5 separate regions of the Homo sapiens genome follow, and regions 1, 2, 4 and 5 are each linked to region 3. Evidence: promoter capture Hi-C in human tissues and cell types (Jung and others, 2019). All regions are on one chromosome and are shown on one strand. The core of a region is centred on a gene start or on the middle of the fragment in contact, and the rest is flanking DNA. Distances in the headings are between cores, read along the strand shown. Region 1 overlaps KCNU1 (potassium calcium-activated channel subfamily U member 1). Region 2 overlaps KCNU1 (potassium calcium-activated channel subfamily U member 1). Region 3 holds the start of ZNF703 (zinc finger protein 703). Region 4 has its middle 340 kb from the start of KCNU1. Region 5 overlaps LOC105379377 (a long non-coding RNA gene).

Region 1 (2,700 bases), core at 88-2,587, 860 kb after region 3:
CTGTATATTACATCTCTTTACATTCACGGAAGGAATTACAGAAGCATTCCGTTTGTTGCAGTTAGGATATAGCTGGCCAGAGCACCTCTTACTTCTTTTGCTTTTCGTTAAATAGCACCAGGGAAGAAACAGAAAAAGATGCAAATATTTGTACTGAACACAGAAAAAAGAGAACAGAGGAAAGAGCGAGCAAAGAGAGGTCAAGAGGGAAGTCACGTGTATGAAAGGCAAGCATGGACTCAGAATTAAATGGAAAGTAAGGTCATTCTCTGCAAGCACTTTAGAAAAGGAAGACCAGGTCCAGCCAAGGGCTAGCACACCTTGCCTGGAGCATTTCATGGAAATGATATTTGGAAGACCACCTTTTGTGCTACAAAAATTTATCCCAAGAGTCACTTTTAGCCCCTTACTTTGTCTCAGACAAAAATATCAAAAATCTTGATGTGAGACATTGTGTGGAAATAACACCAGAGGCATACAGCATTGTGGTAACAACACTGTGGACCAGACAGTTCTAGCTCTGCGGCTCACTAACTTACTGCATGATCAAGTTAGTTAGCTTCACCAATTCACTGCTGGGATACTAACAACATATTATTGAGGGGAAACACAAGACAGTAGGCACTCATCATGTGGTTACTGTTATTATTCCTGCATGGAATGCTCCCTTAAACAACCTGGAAAAATTAGATTTTAATTACTATTTGTATCATTTCTATTTGATGAATATAATTATTATACCAATTATTATTTTGGATTTAATTTATATTGAAATATATGAATCCTTCATTAATAATATAACCTTTATTTATATTTTCACTTTCGATAACTCAATGCTTCTACTTTGATGAATGTACTTTGATTTAAAACATCCTGGACTGTAGGTAGGAAGCAGAGTTATATTTTTTCTGTTTTGTAGATAAATATTCTTAGGCAGGAATAAAATAAATGATTTCTTCAAGGTCAGTGTGGTACCTGGGACTTTTAAATTCAGATCTTCTAATCCCTTCCCAGCTCAAGCAGAAGTCATATCTCATTGCTTGGGGCCTTGATGCTTTTCTCAAATTTTTTTCCTATTTCTGATCTTAATATGTAGGACATAGGAACAGAGCCAAGAATCAACAGTAATTTACAAGGTTACCTTTTTGTTTTGCTCCACAAATAGAGATGTTAGGAAGGTACACAAGCCTGGCACCAAACAGCCTTGGGCGATAAATCCAAGTTTTAATTCAGCAAAGCAGATGATGTTGTCTCCGGTGTCCCAGTTCCAGCTGGGAATCTTTGGCAGATAAACCTGTTCCATAGCACAAAGCAGGTCAAACATTAGGAATAAACACACCTCAAGAAAGCTCTTGAGGATGGATGTCTTTCTTTTTTTAAATTTACTTGAAATCATATATTCTTCATTTTTGCACACAAAAGTGGTGCCCAGGTCAATGAAAATGATAAGAACAAATTCAGCATTTGAAAGTGGTTAGTGGTCAATGGCTCTCATTTTTTGAAACAAAAATAGCTAGAGTTGCAAAATCAGGTCAAATGACTTAAACTTCTAATTCTGCCCCCAATTTACATTGTTAAGTGATTATCCATCTTAATAAGACTCCAAATTTTACCTATGATTAGCAAAAACTTTTTATTTACACATCCATTAGAAAATTAAAAAGTTCGTCTAGCTATATAGATAAAAGGAGGAGATGGAATATGCTAGAATGTTACTATACCTTGTTATGGGATTGCAGTATCTGTATGATGATTCTGGTGGTAGAATCATAGTTCTTGATAGAGAGCACCCTATATAAACCCCAAACACTCTCATTAGTCATGTGTCATAGCCAAAGGGCTTTGTAATATAATTTAATTCAGAGTTAAATTGATATGTAGGTAAGTGTAGAAAAACTTGGCATATAATAAAGTTTATTGTTGTGTTGTTTTCTAAAAATGTTTTTAGTAGCCTACACAGAAGAGCATCATTGTTTTCATGACTTTGCCAACCAAATCTATGGAATGATTATCTCTTGGTGTTAGAAGACTGTGTTCTTCTGAGACCAATTCTTGAGGAGGAAATCAACAGTTTCATGTTTTAGCTTTCAAACCCAAACCTAATAATTACAGGTAAAAATAGAAATTTGATGGTAGTCTATGGCTTGAAATAGCTCATAGACTGTCTAATTCAACTTCCCCATTTTACAAATTAAGAAACTAAGATCTACGTCATATTTACTGTACTATGTATGGTACAGATTTTCAGCTGTTTCTTGCTATATGTAATGTCACCTTCAGCTATCTGTGTTTATTTTACTCTGGAGATTGGAAGTTCATCTGGATTAGCCAAAATGCCATTGTCATCATAATCACAGTTATCACAAGTCACGTTCTTGCTAGAAGAGTTCACAGTTTAATGTAATAACACTGACTCTAGCCATCTTGAAAATACTTGCCGATGGTCAGGCCAGGCGCAGTGGCCCAGCCTGTAATCCCAGCACTTTGGGAGGCTAAGGTGGACAGATCATCTGAGCTCAGGAGTTCAAGACCAGCCTGACCAACATGGTAAAACCCCATCTCTACTAAAAATAAAAAATTAGTCTGGCGTGGTGGCACATGCCTGTAATCCCAGCTACTTGGAAGGCTGAGGCAGAACTGCTTGCACCGGGGAGGTGGAAGTTGCAGTGAGCCTAGATCACGCCACTGCCCTCCAGCACA
Region 2 (2,700 bases), core at 122-2,621, 800 kb after region 3:
TTTAAGTGATATTGATATTGCTTCTGATGTCTTCAATTCTTCCAGCAGTGATTTTTGCTGAAAGGTTAATAGTACTAGGTAGTTTTATTTTGTCTGGATACATTTTTTCATCTGCTGCAATCAAACACAATTTAATTGATTCACCATTAGTAAATGACTTCTCTTGCTTGGCTAACAAGTGAGTCACTCAGAAACAAACTTTGATTACAAATTCTGCTGTGCTAAGATGTTCTTTTAAAATTTTATAATTTTTCTAACCATGGCTTTACCATGAATTGAGAATATTGTGATAAGTGCCAAGTTTGATAATATCAACATATATTGTAGTCTTTTACCACAGTATACTTTCATTGAAATTAAGCACAATGCTTTTGTATGGCAAACCATATAAAAACAGGTAGTGAAGTGGATTTTGACTTCTAATCTAGAAAGCAGCCTGACATCATTTTAAAATAGCATTTGCATAGACCAAAGATATCACAAATACTCAGTGGCATTTGTTAATCGAAAATTTTTTCATGAATTATCTATATTTCTAACATTTTTGGATTTTTGGCTTGCAGATTAAAAGTGTCAAGTTAGAGATGAAGGAAGGCGTTGCTGCAAAGAGATGGTCTTAAACCAGGTTAAGGGACCATTACAAGTTTAATAGGAAGATGAAAAATAACTATAAAAAGTAACTACAAGGGACATTCTTCCAGAATGGCAGAGTTAGGGCCTTTGAATATTCACTATTCTACACAAGCAATGAGAATATTGACAAAAAAATTATCAAAATCAACATCTTCAGAGTTCTGGAAATAAACTGGAGACTTGAAACAATATGAGGAGTATTTGTTTAAGAAAAATGGTGAGATCTTGGTAAGAACAATAAGCTTCATGGCATTTTTGAGAAGTGCTATTCCCATTCCACTATCTTTAGTTCAACAGTAGCCATCAAGATCAGAAGCCTTACAATAACAGTAGCTCTGAAAACCAGCAGTCTAGCAGCCACCAGAGAGAAAAAATAGATCTGAAGCTGTTAAATATCCTTATTCACAGAATATGTTACTATTTGAGCTTTCTAGCAGCTCCCTGGAAGTGCACACTCACAGGGCTTATCTTTATTTGGCCTGGGAGTTTTCTCAGTGGAATTTTTCCGGAGGCATTTTAAAAAAATAATCAGCAGTAATTTTTTTAAATTGCAAATATCTGAGTTATAGTTAACAATGTCGCAAAAAAAAAAAAGACCCATAAAAATCTTCAAAAGAAAAAGCTGGAGAATTAGAAGTCTATAGAGAGGGCCAGATGTGGTGGCTCATGCCTGTAATCCCAGCACTTTGGGAGGCTGAAGCAGGTGGATCACCAGAGGCCAGGAGTTCAAGACTAACCTGGGCAACATGGCGAAACCTCATCTTTACAAAAAAAAAACAAAAAAAAACAAAAAGTAGCTAGGCATGGTGGCTCACACCTGTAATAACAGCTACTTGAGAGGCTGAGTCAGGAGAATTGCTTGATCCCAGGAGGCAGATGTTGCAGTGAGCTGAGATCATGCCACTGCATGCTGTCCTGGGTGACAAAGCAAGACTCTGTCTCAAATAAAACAAAAGAAAATAACAGACTTCTATAGAGGGTATTAAAAGGTTTTGAAACATTCACTGTAGGAAACTGAATAAAAATAAAACCATGTGCATGTGCAGAGTTGTAAATACACCCAGGGGAAAAAAAACCTGAGGTATTCCTAATCTCTTCTGGCTGATCTTGAGACTGCACAAACCAAAAATGAAGGCTTAGGCAAAGATGTAAACTGCTAAAGTGTCAAAGGAATTACCTCAACATGCACACAGAATCCCTTGGCAAATATAAGAAGACTTATCAGTTCAAGGCATTTAAGGAAATCTCAGTGCAATCATTAGCTGATCATAAAGCTGAGTAGAGATTTAAGTGTCAATATACAATAAACCATAGCAAAATAGTTTGTAGAGTTGTCATATAATATTATTTAAAATGCCTGGCTTTCAACAAAAAATTATGAGACACAAAGACACAGTAAGTATGGACCATACCTGGTGGGGGGTGGGGGGTGGGAACACCAATAGAAACTGTCCGGAAGGAAGCCCAGACTTTCTAGGCAAAGATTTTATAAGAGCCATTATAAATATATTTAAAGGACTAACTGAAACCATTTTTAAAGAACTAAAGAAAAGTATGAGAACAATATAGCACTGAATACAAAATATCAGTGAGGAGATAGATTATAAGAAAAAAACAAATGGAAATTCTGGAGTTAAGAAGTACAATAACTGAAAAGAAAATTTTAGTGAAGGAGCTCAGCAGCAGATCTGAGTTGGCAGAAGAAGGAATAAATGAGCTTGAATATAAGTCAATGGAGATAATGCAGTCAGAAAAATAGAAATAAAAACCTATTGAAGAAATATACACAGAAGCTTCAGAAAACTGTGGGACATCATCAAGTGTATCAACATACACAAAATGGGAGTTTCAGAAATGGGGGAGAGAGAGAAAGAAGAAAGAGTACTTAGATAATGGACACAAATTTTACATATTTAATGAAAACATTAACTTACATATCTAAGCAGCTAAAGGAAGTTTAAAGTAGAGTAATCTCAAAGAGATTCAGACCTGGATATACCATAATCAAATTGTTCAGAGCCAAGGGCAAAGAGGAATCTTGAAAGCAGCAAGTAAAAAGCAACTCAG
Region 3 (2,700 bases), core at 140-2,639:
GCCAAGGGGCTCTTCTTGGCGTCCAGCTGTGGGAGACAGAAGCAGGGGGAGGGAGAAGGAGTGAGACTCAGAGGCCTGCGGGGCGAGCGGGGGCGCCCGGGGAGCTGGGCGGCGGCGCCACGGGGCGGGGCGGGCCTGGGGAGAGGGTCTGCGAGCGAGGGCCGGGCCGGGCGCGGCAGCTGGCGGAACTGCGCCCACACTGCCGCTGGGTCCCGGGGTGCGCCGCAGGCCCTGCGGAAGGAGTTCACCCAGGACCCCTGCGGGAGAAGGTGACGTCTCTGGAGTCGGGGCTGTGACTCGCCACTTCCCTCTAATGTCCCCCTCCTCCAGGCCCAGGAAAAAACTTATTCCTTTAGTTTGGGGGAACTTCGCTTGGGACGGGTTTCTGGCGATGGCGCCGCGGGGTAGGAGAGGGGAGCGCGGATTCTAAAGGAGGGGCTGCAGTTGGCGCTCTCTCCGTAGCCCCTCCCTCCCGGGGAGGGCACCCAGGGAAGAGGCAGGAAGAAAGATCCGGGATCGGGAGCGCCAGGGCGCCGTGCGCCCTCACCGGATGGGACAGAGGCGAAGTGGGACCCGGGCAGCCAGGGCTTCAAAGAAAACAGCCCGGCGTGGGGGGCGGGGAAGACCCAGCAGAGACCAACTCCTGGCTGGAAACTGGGGATCAGAGGAAAAGTAAAGGACCCAGAGGGGACTCCAGGAGCAAATCCAATCCGAGAGAAAACACGGAGCTCCGAAGGGCGAGCGTGGAAGGAGACCCTTCCACGGGGAAGCCTGGGGAAGCCCTGGTGGGCTCTGATCCCTCGGTTTTCTTCCCCTCCTCACTCAGCCCGCCAGCGTGACCAGACTTGGGTGTCGCACCGAGCCCCGGGGCGCTGGGAGCTGGGTCAGGGTCCCGGTCGCGGTGGGAGGAATGGGGCCGGCGCCCGGGGGCAGCGGCCGGGGACTGACCTCAATGGGGCTGACGGGAGTGGAGGACAGCGGCTGCAGGTACTCCGGGTGCAGGAGGTGACCGGTGTGAGCGCTCAGCATCTTCAGGACCCTGATCGGGAGCCGGTTCGCCTGGCGCAGGGGGTCCGCCGGTGGCAAGAGGGACACCGCTGCCGGCACCGCCGGCCTCTTCCCGCCGCCGCCGCTGCCGCTGCCGCTGCTTTCGGGTGTCCTTGGGTTAGATCCAGCGGGCGAATCGCTCATTTGGAGGAGGCAGCGCCGCTGGGGGGGCGGGGAGGGCGGGGGAGCACCGGGGAGGCGAGCTCCCGGGGCGGGTGGGCTCGCTCCGCAGCGTCGATCGCGGTGCAGCGGGAGCTGCGCCTCCTCGCCGCCTCCCCTCCTCCACCGACGCCTCCGCCGCCGCCGCCACCGCCGCTGGCCCCGGCTAGCAACACAAAAACCTTCGCCTTCCTCGAGCCGCACGTCAAATAGCCGCGATCGGCAGCCACACTTCAAAGGGATCGCCGCGCCCGCCCAATCGCAGCTCTCGCCGGGACCCCGGGGCGGGGAGAGCGGCGGGCTGAGGCCGGCTCCATCGGTGGGCGGGGAGAGCCTTAAAGGGGCCGCGCCGCGCGCCGCCGCTGCCTCGGTCTCGGCCGCTCCCGGGATTCCTCCCCTCCCCCCGACTGGGCCTTCCTCGCCCTGGGGTCCCCCGCCTGGGACGGGACTTCTCCGGGACCCTGAGCTCTGCGCCCCGTCCTCCTTTCCGGCCGCTCTCTCTCCTCTCTCCCTTCTCACCACTGGGTGGGTGGGGGGTGATGCTGGCGGGGGCTGTAACCCCGCCCGCCGTGTGTGTCCGAGGTGGGGTGGGGTGGGGTGGGGTGGGGTGGGAGGGATCGCACGGCGCGGGCTCTGGGACGCTGGAGTTCAAGCCTCTCCCAGAGGCCGCCTGGGGGCAGGCCTCGCCTCGGGAGCCCGGGTCCTTCTCCAGAGCTGCTCCGGCTCTCCTCGGCCCCGCTCTCCTTCCCCTACTTGGCCTCCCCTTGGTGTGTTCACTTGGAAGCGCCCGAGCCTCGGAGGCACCCACTGTTCTCGGGACGCGGCGTAGGCAGCTCCAACTACTTTGAGCCCGTCTTGTCTGAAGCCTGCAAGTTTGTCTCCCTTCTGGAGTGACATGGTCGGCGACCAAGCGCGGGACCCCAGGCTGTGCGCGCTGTGCCTGCGCCCTGCGTTAGAGGCTCGGTGTCTGGTGTGTTACAGGCTTCTTACCGTGTCCTGCTGAGGGGCGTGAAGTTCCTCACTGTACCGCGCCCAGCTGCTACGAGGAGAGACCGAGATCACGGGCGAGGCGGGTGTCCCTGGAGGGGGATCTCTCTCTAAGCGCTGCTCGGCAACACAACCCCTCCGCCCCCCCATCCTTCTCACTCCGGGGGAAAAAGCACTTGCTTTCCCCAGGCAAATTTCGGGATAAAAACTTTTAATTAAAAATAACAATACCCTTCCCGACTCCCTGCGCCTTTCTGATACAGTGTGCATTGCTAGCTTCGCCCTGGGCAGAGATTTTACGTAGTCATAGTCCTGACATCCAAGTTCCGGATCCGCCGCTTTTCCGGAGGCGAAGTTGGTCCTTTGGGTGCCGAACTCTGGGGAGCCCACTTCTCCGTGCGCTCGGCGGCCAGTGGAGGCGCGCTGGTGTCACTGCCTGGCTCCCAGCACCACTTTTCCAGTCCCGATCCATCACTCCGGTTGTCAGGGCTGTCACTCGGGGCGTAT
Region 4 (2,700 bases), core at 65-2,564, 580 kb after region 3:
AAATATTTGGTAAAATTCACTAGTGTAATTGTCAGGACATGAGTCTTTCTTTTTTGTACGTTTATTAATTATGATTCAATTTCTTCAATAGATATAGACCTTTGCTGACTATCTATTTATGCTCGTGTGAGTTTTGGTAGTTTATGTCTTTCAAGAAATTTGTCCCATTTATCTAAGTTATCAAATCTGTAGGCATAGAAATGTTAATAGTATTCCTTTATTGTTTTTCTCATGTCTTTGGGCTCAGTAGTGATTATCCCTCTTTCATTTCTCACATTGATAATAAATGTCATCTCTCCTTTGTTCTTGATTAGCCTGGCTATAAGTTCATCACTTTTATTAATTTTTTTGAATGAATCAGCTTTGGATTTTGGGGAGGATTTTTTTCTCTCTCGTTTTTCTGTTTTCAATTTTATTAATCTGCTCTAATTTTATTATTTCTTTTCTTCCTTTTACTTCAGGCTTAAATTGCTTTTCTTTCTCTAGTTTTCTAAGGTAGAAGCTTAGATGATTAATTTTAGATATTTCTTCTTTACTAATATCTGCACTTAATGCTAATAATTTCCTCCTATCCACTGCTTTTGCTGCATCCCATAAATTTTGATAAATTGCACATTTATTTTAATTTAACTGATAATATTTTAAAATTTCAAAGTTTTTTTTTCTTTGGCACACATGTTATTTAAAAGTATGTTGTTTAATTTCCAAATATTTGGGGATTTTCCAATTATCTTTTTGTTATTGATTTTTACTTCAATTCCACTTGGTGTGGGAGCCAACTTTTATAGTATTATCTTCCTATAAATTTGTTAAGGTGTGTTTTATGGCCCAGAATGAGTTTTGTTTTTTTTTTTTTTTTTTTTTTTTTGTAGCAGGGAGTGGGGTTGCGAATGTTCCATGTAAACTTGAGAAGAATGTATATTCTGCTCTTGTTGGATGGAACATTCCATAAATGCCAATTAGATCAAGTTGATTGATAGTACTGTTTAGGCCAACTATATTCTTACTGATTTTCTGTCTGTTTGATCTATCAATTACTGAAATGGGAATGTTGAAGTCTCCAACTATAATAGTGGATTTTCCCCATTTCTCCTTTCAATTATATTATTTCTTTTTCTCTCATGTATTTTGACTCTGCTGTTAGGTACAGGTATATCTAAATGCTAGATAGTATAACATGTAGGATTGTTAAATCTTTTTGGAAAATTGACTTCTGTAACATTATAAAACATTCCCCTTTATTCCCAATAACTTTCCTTGTTATGCAGTCTGCTTTGTCTGAAATTAATATAGCTACTCCAACTTTCTTTTGATTAGTCTTAATATGTTTTAGCATTATTCAGAATTTTTCAGAGAAACAGAACCAATGGCACATACATATACAAGGAAACAGATGTATTAGAATGAGTTCTCTTGCTCATTATGAAGGCTGGTTAGTACAAAATCTGCAGTGTGAACTGGTAGTCTTAAGATCCAGGGAGAGCCAATGGTGCAGTTCTAGTCCAAAGGAAGTCTGGTGGGAAGGTTTCTATTGACTGAGGAGGCTGGTCTTTTTATTCCATTTAGACTTTCAACTGATTAGATGAGGCCCATGTACATTAAGGAGAGTATTCTGCTTATTCAAAGTTCACTGATTTAAGTGTTAATCTTATCCAAAAACACCCTCCAAACTGACATACAAAATTTATCAATCATCATAAGATCACCTCTTATCAACTTAGCACCTGTCTAGTCAGCTCAGAATACCATAGATTGGGTGGCTTAAACAACAGACATTTGTTTCTTACAATTCTAAAGACTGGGAAGTGCAAGAACAAGGTGCTGGTAGATTCAGTTTTTGGTGAAGGTATTCTTCCTGGCTTGCAGATTGCCACATTTTCACAATGTCTTCATATGAAAGAGAGAGAAAGAAAGAGCTCTGGTATTTCCTCTTCTTCAGATAAGGAAACTAATTCCATTCTGAGGGGTGGCACTGGACTGAATATTTATATCCCTCCTAAATTTATATAATGAATTTCCAGCCCCCAAGGTAATGATACTAAGAGATGGGTCTTTGGCGAGGTGATTAGGCTGTGAGGGTGAAGCCCTCATGAATCAGATTAGTGCCCCTATAAAAGAGATCCTGGAGAGATCTCTCATCCTTTCCCTCATGTAAGGACACAGTGAGAAGATGGCTGTCCATTGATACACCAGGAAGAGGACCCTTACCAGTCACCAAATCTACCTGCACCTTGATCTTGGACTTCCCAGCCTCCAGTACTGTGGGAAATAAATTTCTGTTGTTTATAAGCTACCCAATTTATGGTATCTTGTTATAGCAATCCAAATGCACTATGAAGGGATTCAACATCCAAGACACAACTCACAAAGGCTGCACCTCCAAATGCCATTACATTGGGAGTTAGGGCTTCAACATGTACATTTTGGAGGAGAACACACATTCAGTCCATAATAGCACCCATAAACTATACTTAATACCTGAATGAAAACAATACTAAGGTCATATTTCCACCTAACATGGTACAACCAAAAACATACTACCCCTTTTTTCAGAAGAGGATGGAACGTCCTTAGATGATGTATACTATTTTCCTTGATCTCATGTAATTTAAATCCGGTGCTATAAATGCATTTCATATAACATGAAAAGGGGCTAAGAGAGTAAGGAAAACAGATATTTGATACACACACATACACAAA
Region 5 (2,700 bases), core at 107-2,606, 630 kb after region 3:
AGTTGCAATTGTTTATGTGCGTGTGTGTGTGTGTGTGTGTGTGTAGTGAGAAGATTTAAGATGTGTCCTCTCAGCAAATTACTAGTATACAATACAGTTTTGTTAATTAACATGACCATGCTGTACATAAGGTCTCTAGAAATTATTCATATTTCATAACTGAATCTTTGTATCTTTTGGCCAGTATCACCCTATTTCTTCCTTGACCAGGCCCTGGAAACCACTATCCTACTATCTGCTTCTATAAATTTGACTATTTTCAATTTCACATATAAATGAGATCATGCAGGATTTCTGTTTCTGTGTCTTGTTTGTTTCACCTAGCATAATGTCTTCCAGCTTCATCATGTTGTGGCTAACAGCAGGATTTCCTTCTTTTTTAATAGTATTCTGTTATACACACACATGCGCGCGCGCACACACACACCCACACACACACACCACATTTTCTTTATCCATTCATCTGTTGAAAAACATTTAGGCCATTTCCATAGCTTAGCTTTGTGAATAATCCTGTAATGAACATGATAGTGCAGAGAACTCTTCACAATCCTGATTTCGATTGCTTTAGATACCAAGAACTAGGATTGCTGGATCATGTTAGTTCTATTTTTAAGTTTTTGGAGAACCTTCATACCATTTTCCATAATGGTTTTACTAATTTACATTCTCATCAGCAGTGTATAAGGGTTCTCTTTTCTCCACAGGAAAACAGTCCCATTTACATTAGCAACAAAATAAATAAATAAATAAAATACTTAGAAATTAACTTAACCAAAGAAGTAAAGGACTTATATACTGAAGCTTACAAAGCATTCATGAAGGAAATTTAAAAAGATACAAATAAATGAGAAGATACAAATCCTATGTACCTGGATTGGAGGAATTAATATTGTAAAAATGTCCATACTACCCAAAATGATCTACATATTCAACACAATCTCTATCAAAATCCCAAAGGCACTTTTTAAGAAATAGAAAAAATATTCTTAAATTCCTATGGAATCAAAAGGACCCTGAATAACCAATCTTGAAAAAGAAGAACAAAGCTGAAGGCATCACACTTCCTGACTTCAAATTATATTACAAAGACATAATAAAAAGTACAGTACTTGCATAAAGACAGATGTATATACCATTGGAACAGAATAGACAACCCAGAAATAAACCCATGCATCCAAAGATGCCAAAAAATACATAATGGGGAGAGGATAGTCTCTTCAACAAATGTTGTTAAGAAAACTAGATACCAATATACAAAAGAATGAAACTGAACCCCTATCTCACACCATACACAAAAATCCTCATAGTCTTCACATTGAGTAGGCTGAGGAAGAGGATGAAGCGGAGGGGTTGGTCTTGTCATCTGGGGGCAGGGCAGAGGTAGAAAGAAATCTCTGTATAAGTGAACTTGCACAGTTCAAACTCATGTTGCTCAAGTGTCGGCTGTGTTTGGTTCTACCTTGCATTATAATAAGGTCTTATCTCATTACCAGACCATGTGCTCTAGAGGAAGAGTAGGCTGAAGCTGCTGCCGTTCATTGTATCTCCTGAAACATGTAGCACAAAGTCTTGTGCAAAACTGGAATACAAGACATACACTTTGTTAAATGGAATCATTGTTTTATTGCCATTTCTTATCTTTCCAATTGTACTTAAATTCAGGAAGTGTAAGGCATTCCTAACAAAGTGCCTTACATTTGACATTAATAAGGGTTTGTTGCTTGGTTTATTGGCTTATTGAGCAAGAGAGAGCTAGGTATAAGGATAGTGGAAGACACTCAGGTTCCTGTTTTGAAACTACCACTTACTTGTTGTGGGACCCCAGGCAAGTCACTGCACATATTTAAGCTTCAGTTTGATCATGTAGAAAAGGAGGGTTAAACTAAATGACTTCCACATGAGTTTCTGGTTCCAAGAAATTTTTCTAAGCCTTGCTGACTCCTTCAGGATTCAACCCAGGCTGAGTTGGAAGCAAAATAATTCAGAGGACCAAGTGTGCCAGGCTAGCATAAAGAAGTTAAGAGAGAAATATAAGTTTTGTTATGTTGAAATGCCGAATTATAAGAGATAGAGAATAAAAAAGAAAAAAGGAGAGAGAGAGATCCTGGATACTGGGGAAAGAAGGTGAGCTCAGACAGAAGGGTGAGAACTGAAGCACAAGAAAGCTGATAAAGCAGTGGTTCTCAATGTGGGACAAGATGGAGAAGAGCTGCCACTCCTAGGGGAGGTGGGATTTCACCCATCATTGTAATTGGCATTTAGTAGGTGGGGCCAAGGGGAGCAGACGTCTTGCAATACACTGGTCAGTTCCATACATCAAAAAGTTATCCCATTTCACATGTAATTTTCAAATGTTTCACTGGACATACAGTTGGGTGAAAGACCTATTTGGAATAATCTAAGCCTAAATCTATATTGTGTGTAAATTCAAAAACATTTTTGCACTGTCTGAATACTCCCTGAACCTTTCAGTAAAGCATCAATTCTGTAAATTGACAGAAAATAGGATGGCATTATATTGGTACAAAGCACACAGATGCTAAGGAATGGATATAAATAGATATCAAAGTGACTTGCTAGAGATCTCATCTCTAGGACGTGGTGACACTGGACTCTCTGCTCAATCACACATTCTTGCTGTGTCACTCAAGCTGGAAGGATGGCATCATATGGCACTTCTCCAAGAGTTGTTCATTA

The links. Contacts are between HindIII fragments. The study calls those that stand out against the background at their distance.
Region 1: a contact is called between a fragment that was not itself captured here and the fragment with the promoter of ZNF703 in region 3, in 2 of the 25 tissues and cell types used here (IMR-90 fibroblasts and lymphoblastoid cells).
Region 2: a fragment that was not itself captured here is called in contact with the fragment with the promoter of ZNF703 in region 3 in 4 of the 25 tissues and cell types used here (IMR-90 fibroblasts, hippocampus, lymphoblastoid cells and 1 more).
Region 4: a contact is called between a fragment that was not itself captured here and the fragment with the promoter of ZNF703 in region 3, in 3 of the 25 tissues and cell types used here (neural progenitor cells, small bowel and thymus).
Region 5: a fragment that was not itself captured here is called in contact with the fragment with the promoter of ZNF703 in region 3 in 1 of the 25 tissues and cell types used here (bladder).

What each region holds. Positions count from the first base shown.
Region 1 is chr8:36,835,387-36,838,086 of GRCh38, reverse strand. It overlaps KCNU1 (potassium calcium-activated channel subfamily U member 1), which reads right to left. Exons shown (of 27, transcript NM_001031836.3): 13 at 1,722-1,791; 14 at 1,142-1,294. Among named protein-coding and RNA genes, the nearest start is that of KCNU1, 52 kb to the right of the region's middle. The HindIII fragment of the contact is 5,758 bases long and covers 1-2,700 here.
Region 2 is chr8:36,891,855-36,894,554 of GRCh38, reverse strand. All of the region lies in intron 19 of KCNU1 (potassium calcium-activated channel subfamily U member 1), which reads right to left. All of the region lies in intron 2 of LOC105379375 (a long non-coding RNA gene), which reads left to right. Among named protein-coding and RNA genes, the nearest start is that of KCNU1, 110 kb to the right of the region's middle. The HindIII fragment of the contact is 6,473 bases long and covers 1-2,700 here.
Region 3 is chr8:37,694,471-37,697,170 of GRCh38, reverse strand. It overlaps ZNF703 (zinc finger protein 703), which reads right to left and starts at 1,389. Exons shown (of 2, transcript NM_025069.3): 1 at 949-1,389; 2 at 1-26. The coding sequence starts at 1,191. It overlaps LOC124901932 (a long non-coding RNA gene), which reads right to left. Exons shown (of 2, transcript XR_007060887.1): 2 at 2,388-2,700. It overlaps LOC124901933 (a long non-coding RNA gene), which reads left to right and starts at 1,490. Exons shown (of 2, transcript XR_007060888.1): 1 at 1,490-1,731; 2 at 2,188-2,426. RefSeq lists enhancers at 458-1,000, 1,001-1,544 and silencers at 1,279-1,378, 1,429-1,778, 2,566-2,700. The HindIII fragment of the contact is 17,905 bases long and covers 1-2,700 here.
Region 4 is chr8:37,118,344-37,121,043 of GRCh38, reverse strand. No RefSeq gene overlaps it. Among named protein-coding and RNA genes, the nearest start is that of KCNU1, 340 kb to the right of the region's middle. The HindIII fragment of the contact is 8,813 bases long and covers 1-2,700 here.
Region 5 is chr8:37,063,390-37,066,089 of GRCh38, reverse strand. LOC105379377 (a long non-coding RNA gene) reads left to right here. Exons shown (of 7, transcript XR_949675.4): 7 at 1-291. Among named protein-coding and RNA genes, the nearest start is that of KCNU1, 280 kb to the right of the region's middle. The HindIII fragment of the contact is 4,005 bases long and covers 1-2,700 here.